Linked DNA regions of Homo sapiens: all the other regions are linked to region 2. The links are contacts of gene promoters, found by promoter capture Hi-C in blood cells and fetal thymus (Javierre and others, 2016). All regions are on one chromosome and are shown on one strand. Each heading gives the region's core, a stretch centred on a gene start or on the middle of the fragment in contact. The rest is flanking DNA. Distances are from core to core; before and after follow the strand shown.

Region 1 (3,107 bases), core at 79-2,578, 170 kb before region 2:
AATGCTCAATAAATGGTAGTGAGTTTCATCATGTGCAGACGATATCTGGTTTCAAATTCCTGACCTCAATGATCCACCCGCCTCGGCCTCCCAAAGTGCTGGGATTACAGGCGTGAGCCACCATGCCCAAGTGCAGGTGATGTCCAAATTCATGACTTCAGAAAATGGCCTATTCATAAAAGCCAGTTCATAAGGGAAAAGGAGACAATTTCAAGGGAGAAAATATATCTCGAGAGAGAGAGCTGAAGAATGTTGCCTCGTTTCCTGGAAGCCAAGATCAGAATACAAGTAGTTTCCTTCTCTCCTTGTTTCCAATTTTGCTGGGCTTCTCAGAAAAAGTAGTCATAAAACTTAATCTGGGAGTTCCAAGTTCAACCATCCACCCAATGCTGCCAATGAACTCAAAGCTTTAAGAAAATTGAAATGGTGTTTCCCTTTAGCAAAAAAGATGGAAGATACCATTAGAGTGTGTGAGTGTGTGAGTTAATGGGAACTTTAGCCAAAATCTTCCCTTGACTCTAACAGTTCTATAAGTTGAATAGCCACTGGGTAAAATACGGTTAGTCCTGAATGAATTTCATTATCCTTTCACTAACAAGTTTCTAGCTCTTGTATTATGCAATTTGGCAAATACTTTCATAATTCACTTTGAATACACTTTTTTTAAACAATCCTACACCGTCATATGGAAGTTAACCATCTTCTCAGGCTAAATATCGCATTTTGTATTCTACATATATTCACATATTTGTGTATGTATATAGTATATGAATAAATATCACTTTGTAGTTTAATCTCATACACCAGCCTTTATAGCACCTTTGAATATTTAGATGTCTTTCTTTAGATGATCTTTGGTAATATTATGACTTTGTTCAGATTTAGTATTCTAAACAGTGATACTCTGTAGATAACAATAAAAGAAAAGGTAAAATAAAAGAGAAACACAGATTACAGGCCTGATTATTTCTTTCTTGCTTGGCTAGTGTGACGGGAAGACAAGAGCACTGGGCTAGGGACAAAACAACCCATGCACATTCATTTGCACTATAGTGACCACCTACAAAAGTTACGTAACTTCTGTAAATCTCAAAGACTTCTAAATATATGGAAAAAATGCCTTCAAGGCCTATCTCCCAGAGTTATTGTGAAGTTGTTTGTAAAACCATAAAGCAAAATACAAAGCTAAAGTTTTCTTTCTTGTTATTTGCTACTTTCTAGCCACTCGGATTTTTTTTAAGCCAACAGCTATATAGTCTCTTTATAAAGTCATTTTACTTTAAATTGAAAAAATAAAGAAGAATTGACTGTTTTACCATTGAGCACTAAAGAGATCATTTCTACAGGTGCTAATGTATTAATTTTATAATATATGAAATTCTTGCATTGCGGTAAAAAGAAAAGCACATAACATAAAATATACCATCTTAATCATTTTTAAGTGTACAGTCCAGTATCATTAAGCATATCCACATTGTTGTGACTCTCTGGAACTTTTCTATCTTGAAAAACTGAAACTCTATACCTATTAAACAAGTCATCAGTTCTCCTTCTCCCCAGGCCCTAGCAAACATCTTTCTACTTTCTGTTTCTATTAATTTGACTACTTTATTTATTTATTTATTTATTTATTTATTTATTTATTGGGCCAGGATCTTACTCTGTCACCCAGGCTGGAGTGCAGTGGCACAATTATGGTTCACTGAAGCCTTCACCTCCCAGGTTCAAGTGATCCTTCTCCCTCAGCCTTCTCAATAGCTGAGACTAGAGGCATATGGCACCAGGCCTGGCTAATTTTTAATATTTTTTTGTTGCTCATGTTGGTCTTGAACTCCTGGGCTCAAGTGATCCTTGAGCCTCCACCTCCCAAAGTGCTAGCATTATAGGCATGAGCCACTGGGCCCAGCCCGAATTTGACTACAGTAGAGGGTCCATATAAGTGGAACCATAATGCCACATACATAATTATCTTTTTGTGACTAGACTATTTCACTTAGTAACAAGGTTCATCTATGTTGTAGCACATGTCAGAATTTCTTTCCTTTTTAAGACTGAATAATATTCCATTGTATGTATATACCACGTTGCGTTTATCCATTTATCCAACACTGGACATCTGGGTCGTTTCCACCTCTTAACTACTGTGAATAATGCTGCTATGTACGTGTGTGAAAAAATATATAAAATTAGTTAAAAACACACATCTGTGCTCAAGTTTTTGTTTGATAAGTGAATAAAAATGAAAACAGAAAAGCTTGTTTCTTGGAATTCTGCAGTTCAAAATCACAAATGCTTTTATGTGATTATACCTGACAGTGAGTAACTGATTTCCTCAGTGGACTAATGCATTTGTCTTTCAAATTCCAAAAATTTTACTCTAATACAATATAATCATAAATAAAACATCATTCTAAGGTATTTGTTTACAAATGGTAATATTTCATGAAGAAAAATATATGGCAAAAGATTTTAAAAATTTGTATTTTGATTAGTTAAGGAACATACTTATACCAAAACCATTTAGTTTCTTTTGTTTTCTCTTCTGTAAGACCTACACATTTTTATCAATTTTACAAAAATCTTAAGCCATACTTCCAAACTTAAGTAAAAAATGCTCATATATAAAGTGTTTATAATAGAAAATCATTTGTAATGATGTATGTTAAAATTTCACATTTTCTATTGGAAAAATATGAAGACTGAGTTTAGACTGATATCTAGGCTGCTGTTTTAGGAGATGTTATAAGGATTCAATAAACTAAGCCTTAAAGGTTATGTAGTTCAACCCTCTCACAGCACAGGTAGAAATAAGAGACCCAAAGAGTCATGAATAACTTGCCTAAAACGACATAATATGCCATCCTCAAAAGCTGAGTATCACAAAATAAATGTAATATATAATTGAGATAATTTTATTCTTTAATATTATTGCTACTGTTTTCGATAAAATAGTTGGCTCTTGGTTATTCAAGGAATCCAGATAATTAAACAGGTATAGTGTTACAGCAACAAAAGCAATGTTATTTCAAAACAGACGCTTAAATATCTGTATACTTTTGTTGCTCTATTCCTCTACCTATTTCTTATAAAGCAAATTTTAAAAAGTA
Region 2 (3,157 bases), core at 36-2,535:
AATTTCATTTTGTTACCCCTTCCTTCATTAAAACAAAAATACCCTTCATGCACATGCAAAACACTCTACCCCACACTATTAAAACAGCAGAAATGAACACTAACAAAAGCCAAGATAAAAAATTTCCCCAATGTTGAATTTTTGGACTTAGTGTGGGGGTAGGAAAAATGGAGACATAATTCTGGTTCTCCCTTTGGCAGTTTTCAATTGCTGTTTCTTAATCTCAGTCAGAAAACACATTTCTCTGCCTCTCCTTTTGCCCCATTTCTACCCTCTCCTCCCTTGCCCCTGTGCAAAACCAAAGATGGGTTAAGAGGCAAGGCATAATGGAAGAGGAATGTTCTTTTCCTCCACTCCCACTTTCTTCTTCAAATTCTGTTTTGGGACCATCCTTCCCCACCCTCCCATTTTCATCTGATGGACACACTGTCTCTGTTGTCTCTTGTCATATTTGATTTTATGATATTTCATGTTTTATGTGCTTTTTTTTTTTTTTAGTAAATTCATGGACAGAGAATGTATCCTGGTAAACACTTAGATTAAAACAAATTTACATAGTTGATTACTATAAATGAAAATTAGTGACTCAAATTCTCCAGGTTTCTAAGCTACTTAGACTAAGCCAATCAGGTAATTTTTGCTACTTCTGGGCAAAATGTATCTGAATTCCTATTCAGTGGATTTGCAGGATGAAATCTAAGTTTACCTCTTTCATCTCTCATTTAAATGTGGAAAAACGAAATCAATAAAAATCTATATATGCTTATTAAGCATTTTAAGGAGGGTGTGAATAAGGAGTGAAAGCTTTGAGCAGTGACTACAGCAGTTTTTCGAAAGTCAAAACAATAACCAATGCCAATCAGTAGCTCTCTTCACCTCTCACACAATAATAGAGACAGGACAGGATAAAAAAGGGTTACATTTAAAAAAAAGTATGGATGTTAAACCATTGGAAATGGCACTGTAAATGACACCGGAAAAGATCGCCTCCAGGCACTGTGTGGAACTTTGCAAACTCGGGTCCTCACCCGAGGACCGCACGGCCGACCTCGGGGAGGCTCCACCCCAGAAACTATTTCATTGGCGCCACCTCTAGCCCACACTTCCCCTCTTCCGCATGCGCACAAGGAGCAGAAGCCGACCAGCTCGTCACGTCGCCTTCCCCGCCCCTAAATTTCCAGTTCCGATTGGTCTGTTTCATGGGACCGCCCCTCTGGCCCGACCAATGTGGAAGCCTCCTCGGGTGCTCCGCCCTCCCCGCAGGCGGCGTGCGGCTGCATAGCCTGAGAATCCCGGTGGTGAGCGGGGATGGCGGTTGTAGCGGCGGCTGCCGGCTGGCTACTCAGGCTCAGGGCGGCAGGGGCTGAGGGGCACTGGCGTCGGCTTCCTGGCGCGGGGCTGGCGCGGGGCTTTTTGCACCCCGCCGCGACTGTCGAGGATGCGGCCCAGAGGCGGCAGGTGGCTCATTTTACTTTCCAGCCAGATCCGGAGCCCCGGGAGTACGGTGAGCCCTGGGACTGCCCACTCGGTCCCGCTGCAGCCCGGACTCCCAGGCTCGCAGGCGCCCGCGAGGGGCAGGGGCCGGCAGGCTGCAATCCTTGCATCCCAGCTTATTAACTTCCTGACTCTCTGGAACCTCCTTGCCTCAGGGTCTAACTGTGGTTCACTTCTTGCTCTATTTTTGTGACTGTTCAGCCCTCGAGACGCAGTCCCCCCTCCCCCGCAACTTTGAGATGGGTGAGAGGGCATACTGCCACCTGGAAGAGCCTGAGGGTGGAGGGGTGGTGCCCAGGGAACGCCTCCCTTTTCTCTGTCCTCCGTCCTTGCTTTCTCAACCCAGGCCTTAGGTGTTGTTCCAGCCTGGCCAGGACTGGGCCACTAGCTTAGGTAGAGGCATTTAAAAGATATATATATATGTTTATATATATATATTTTAAATGTATATTATATATATTATATATAAAATATATATATGTATATAAAATCAATTCAGTTACTCAGTCCCTTGGTTTCTTCTTACATACAGAAATTGTGTGTATGTGTGTGTGTGTGTGTGTGTGTATATATCCACACACATATATATATGTGTGGATATATATACGCGCATATATATGCATATATATGTGCGCATATATATATATATGCATATATATATATGCACACATATATATGCATATATATATGCATATATGTATATATGTCCCTTGGTTTCTTCTTACCTACAGAATTCTGAGTAATTGAACTGATTTTCCCAAGGTCACAGAACAGGTCCTTCCTAGAGATGTGAAAGAATTCAGACTTTCTACTTGAGCTTAGTACTGAGCTTGTCCTGGGCTATGCTGCCACTTAGCCAAGGAGGTGAAGGGGATGAGAGGAGGAAGCCATAGGAAGGGCATGTAGCAAACTCCTCATAGTATGACTGTTGCATGATTTTTACCATTTCTGCAAGTTTCATGTAATGTCTCTCATCAGAATATCAGATCCAGTGTCTCTCTTCAGAATATCAGGAAACTGTAGGGAAACATGTATTGCTTCCTTGTCTAATAACTTCTCATGTGCATGCTAGAGCTGACATTTTTGGAAGTGTGTCTTGTGGATAAGAATGAACAGTTATTGAGTGCTTACCAGGGTCAGGTGCTGTGTGTATGTTTCATCATCTCATTTAAGGGTTAGGACAACCTTAAAAGGTTAGTAAAGTTTTTATTCCCATTTTGCAGTTAGGTTAATGGAGTCTTGAGACAGTTTGACCAAGATTACACAGGTAAGTTAGTGGTAGCTCCAAAGCTCCAGCTTTGGAATCTAATTGATCAGATTCCAGAGCTTCCATTCTAAACAATGTACTAAGATGCGTGTAGATATAATTTACTTGGAGGGCGTCCCAGTATTGTGAAACAGTAGGTACCATAAAGGTTAATAGTAGGTGTTTTTTTTTTTTTTTCCACCACCAAGATGAGCCCTCAATTCTGTCTTCAAAGCAAATTCTGTCTTCAAAGCAAAGAAATTTTGGTCTAATACTTGAGAAATAGTCCAACTTTCCATAGTTGTAAACTTACTAAAATCTAAGTAAAATGATATCATGTTATCATGATATATATCATGATATATATAAACTTGTTCTTATTTTAAAAATAATACAAACATATTAACAGATAATTTG
Region 3 (3,085 bases), core at 80-2,579, 190 kb before region 2:
GTCCTCAGCACAGCATCAGGATCAATGAATATGTGTTGAATAATGTTATCTGATGAAAGGGAATCAATGGCCTAGGAGAGTAAAGTAATAGTATTGTAGGCTCTTCAATTTTGTTTTCCTCCCACATTTTACATTGGTTTCTTTCTATCAAATTGTCAGCAAGCAGATACACATACTTAAAATGAGCTTATCAAAATGGCTCATTTATTTCTTACAGATAGTAGGCAGGTAAATTTTTATTTGAACGAACACTATCCTTTAAAAACTAATATTTTGATGGCCAGGTGCGATGGCTCATGCCTGCAATCCCAGCACTCTGGGAGGCCGAGGCGGGTGGATCAACTGAGGTCAGGAGTTCAAGACCAGCCTGGCCAACATGGTAAAACCCCATTTCTACTAAAAATACAAAAAATTAGCCAGGTGTGGTGGTCCATGACTGTAATCCCAGCTACTCAGGAGGCTGAAGCAGAAGAATAGCTTGAACCCAGGAGGCGGAAGTTACAGTGAGCCCAGACTGCACCATTGCACTCCAACTTGGGCAACAAGAGCAAAACTCCGTCCCAAAAAAAGAAAAAAATAATATTTGGATAAAATTTAGTAGATATTTCAGAATAAATACAAAAAGAATCACTTTCAACTTTAAGAATTTTTAAAAGGAAAAAAGCCCAAAGTGAGATGATTAAAATGAAATAGATTCTGATGTATCAATAAAAGAATGGGTCAAGACATAATGTTAACAAGGGTTAACTTTTTATACAATTAACTTATATGACTAACTGTTGTGGGAACTTCTGGCTTGGAAATACAAACTCAACATCCTGTTTGAAATGGACAATTGTGGTTTCTCTTTTAAGGATAGCATTGTTCTTAAAATATTAATTATTGATTAAAATAATCAGTATTACTTATTTTAAATATTAAAATAATGTATGCCATGTAAGCTAAAAATTTATACTATATTAAACTTTTATAATTTTCCTTGGCAAATATTTTAATTTGAAGAACTTGTGGTTTCACAATGGTTTTTAGAAGCTGCATCACCAAAAAGGGTGTGTATAAGGGTGTGATTGGGTATGGCATCACTCAAGGAGAGCCAGGTGTAGGCTCCAACAAACCAGATAGGACTAATTCACATGATTTTGATCACCTCTTCATTTTCTTAGGTCCATTTACTACTTACTGAGAGAAATGAATTACACAAACTGTGTTAACAGCTTTTACACAAAAACTGGAGGAAGCTTCCTATACCACTCCGGTTACAAATGAATCCTTCGCACCCAGCATTTCCCAAAAGTTGTGCTTCCTGTTTGGTTAGCCAGCTGTTTAGCAACTTAAAGCAAAGATGAATATTATTTCCAAATGTGATTCCACTGATAAAATTGTGCACATGCTATGATTAAAGCAAATTATAATAAATTCTAAAGCTTGAAAAATAGTTACCAGGTTGGCTTTGAATTTCCAGTTTGATTACAGGCTAGTGCCTAGCATCTGAAAGGTACACTAATGCACACACTCAGATTGCCACAAACAGTCTTACTAGCGGGATGTGCTGAAAACTGTCTGGACTAAAGACCACCATTTGAAAATATCTGTCTCTGCTCTCTTAAGGACAGTGTTTTAGAGAATTACAAGGAGTTCTCTTGCCCTTATTCCCTTCCTTTGCCCCACCCCTTCCTTGGCTATGTGCTTTCTTTTCAGCTGTTTAGTCTAAATATATGAGATATGTTAAAGACTGAAAAATGAAATAAAAAACAAAATTTTTAAGCAAGGACAAGATGAAGAAAGGTAATAAAATTTTAAGTTAAGAAAATCACCTGTAGGGAAAAAATACATATTATTTTTCTATTCATACTACGTACTTTGTAGCGTGCTTAGATCTTTAATCATCCTTTCCACAAACATCTTTAGAGAATGTTTTCCTTAGAGGAGTAAGGGCTATGTCTAGTCTTTTAAGCATATTATAAAAACAAAGATTTGCTGGGACCAATAAGTCTATGAATAGGTCATCTAGAGTCAAGTGGGCATAACTGCGATATAGCTGGAGGATAAAGTTAATTTCATAATAGAAAATTGTCTAAAATGACATTGCACTTTAAAATTAATCAAATTTAAACAATTTCAGTATTTTACCAGAAGAAACTTTGGAAGCATTTAACTCACCAGTTGCAACATAGTCAGGTATCGTTTCCACCAAAGATATTTCTGAATCCATGGGCCAAATGCAGTTAACCCATAGTATGAGTACATAATCACATGGATAAAGGAATTCAACTGGGCTCCAAAAAATGCTTTAGAAAAACAACAGGTAATTACAAGATACAGAAAATTTTATTAGGCAGTAAGCCACTGAGATGTACAATAAATGAATACACATTATTTTTTAATATTTAATCTTGAGTACAGATTAGAAATGAAAAATATAAAGTAGTACTAATGAAAAAGTTTTCCCTTCAGATTAAGCTAGATATTTTTAAAGTTTAGATTTGAGGTTTTACCATATAAATAAAAATGTATGTTCAAATGCAAAGGACTTTCACAGTTGTAGGTTTTCAAATGGAGTACTCCAGTGAGCTTAAATAGGCCCTTAGAACTGTTGCCTATGTTACTTTTAATTCTACTATTCTTGCCTTTAGATGTGCCAATATATATATCTGCAACAAAACAGTACTTATTTCTTAGGTTTCTAAATAGTTTAAAATATGACAGCACTACACACATTGAATAATTCATTTAATATAGATAAATCTACAGAGATATTCCAGTCAGTCAAACTCAATGACATTCTTTCTTTTCAGAATATTAATTTAATCAAGGTATAGATGTAATAATAATTAATTTTTGTCATAAAGTGATCTAAGTCAGTTCAGATTTACTAATTTTCTTTTAAAATTACAGAAGTTGCCTTTAACTGTATTGTTTTAAACTGGGCCCCCAATAATATATGTATGAATTCCTAAGCTGCCAATTATCATAATATGACAATGGAAAGCAGCAAGGTGAACTATACTATAATGACTTGTACCCTGGATCCTCCTCAGAGGAATAATCTGCATCAAGCTCAACAATGTGAATCATCCTTAATCTA

The links. The method cuts DNA at HindIII sites, captures the fragments that hold promoters and counts their contacts. A CHiCAGO score of 5 or more calls a contact.
Region 1: a fragment that was not itself captured here is called in contact with the fragment with the promoter of BCKDHB in region 2 in 1 of 17 cell types (fetal thymus); the score reaches 7.3 in fetal thymus.
Region 3: a contact is called between a fragment that was not itself captured here and the fragment with the promoter of BCKDHB in region 2, in 1 of 17 cell types (fetal thymus). The highest score is 6.9, in fetal thymus.

The regions. Positions count from the first base shown.
Region 1 is chr6:79,937,897-79,941,003 of GRCh38, forward strand. The region is part of intron 1 of ELOVL4 (ELOVL fatty acid elongase 4); the gene reads right to left. Among named protein-coding and RNA genes, the nearest start is that of ELOVL4, 8.1 kb to the right of the region's middle. The HindIII fragment of the contact is 1,847 bases long and covers 406-2,252 here.
Region 2 is chr6:80,105,386-80,108,542 of GRCh38, forward strand. It overlaps BCKDHB (branched chain keto acid dehydrogenase E1 subunit beta), which reads left to right and starts at 1,286. Exons shown (of 10, transcript NM_183050.4): 1 at 1,286-1,504. The coding sequence starts at 1,309. RefSeq lists enhancers at 1,082-1,582, 1,549-1,628 and silencers at 1,169-1,368, 1,399-1,498. The HindIII fragment of the contact is 20,612 bases long and covers 803-3,157 here.
Region 3 is chr6:79,917,260-79,920,344 of GRCh38, forward strand. ELOVL4 (ELOVL fatty acid elongase 4) reads right to left here. Exons shown (of 6, transcript NM_022726.4): 5 at 2,161-2,288. Among named protein-coding and RNA genes, the nearest start is that of ELOVL4, 29 kb to the right of the region's middle. The HindIII fragment of the contact is 186 bases long and covers 1,237-1,422 here.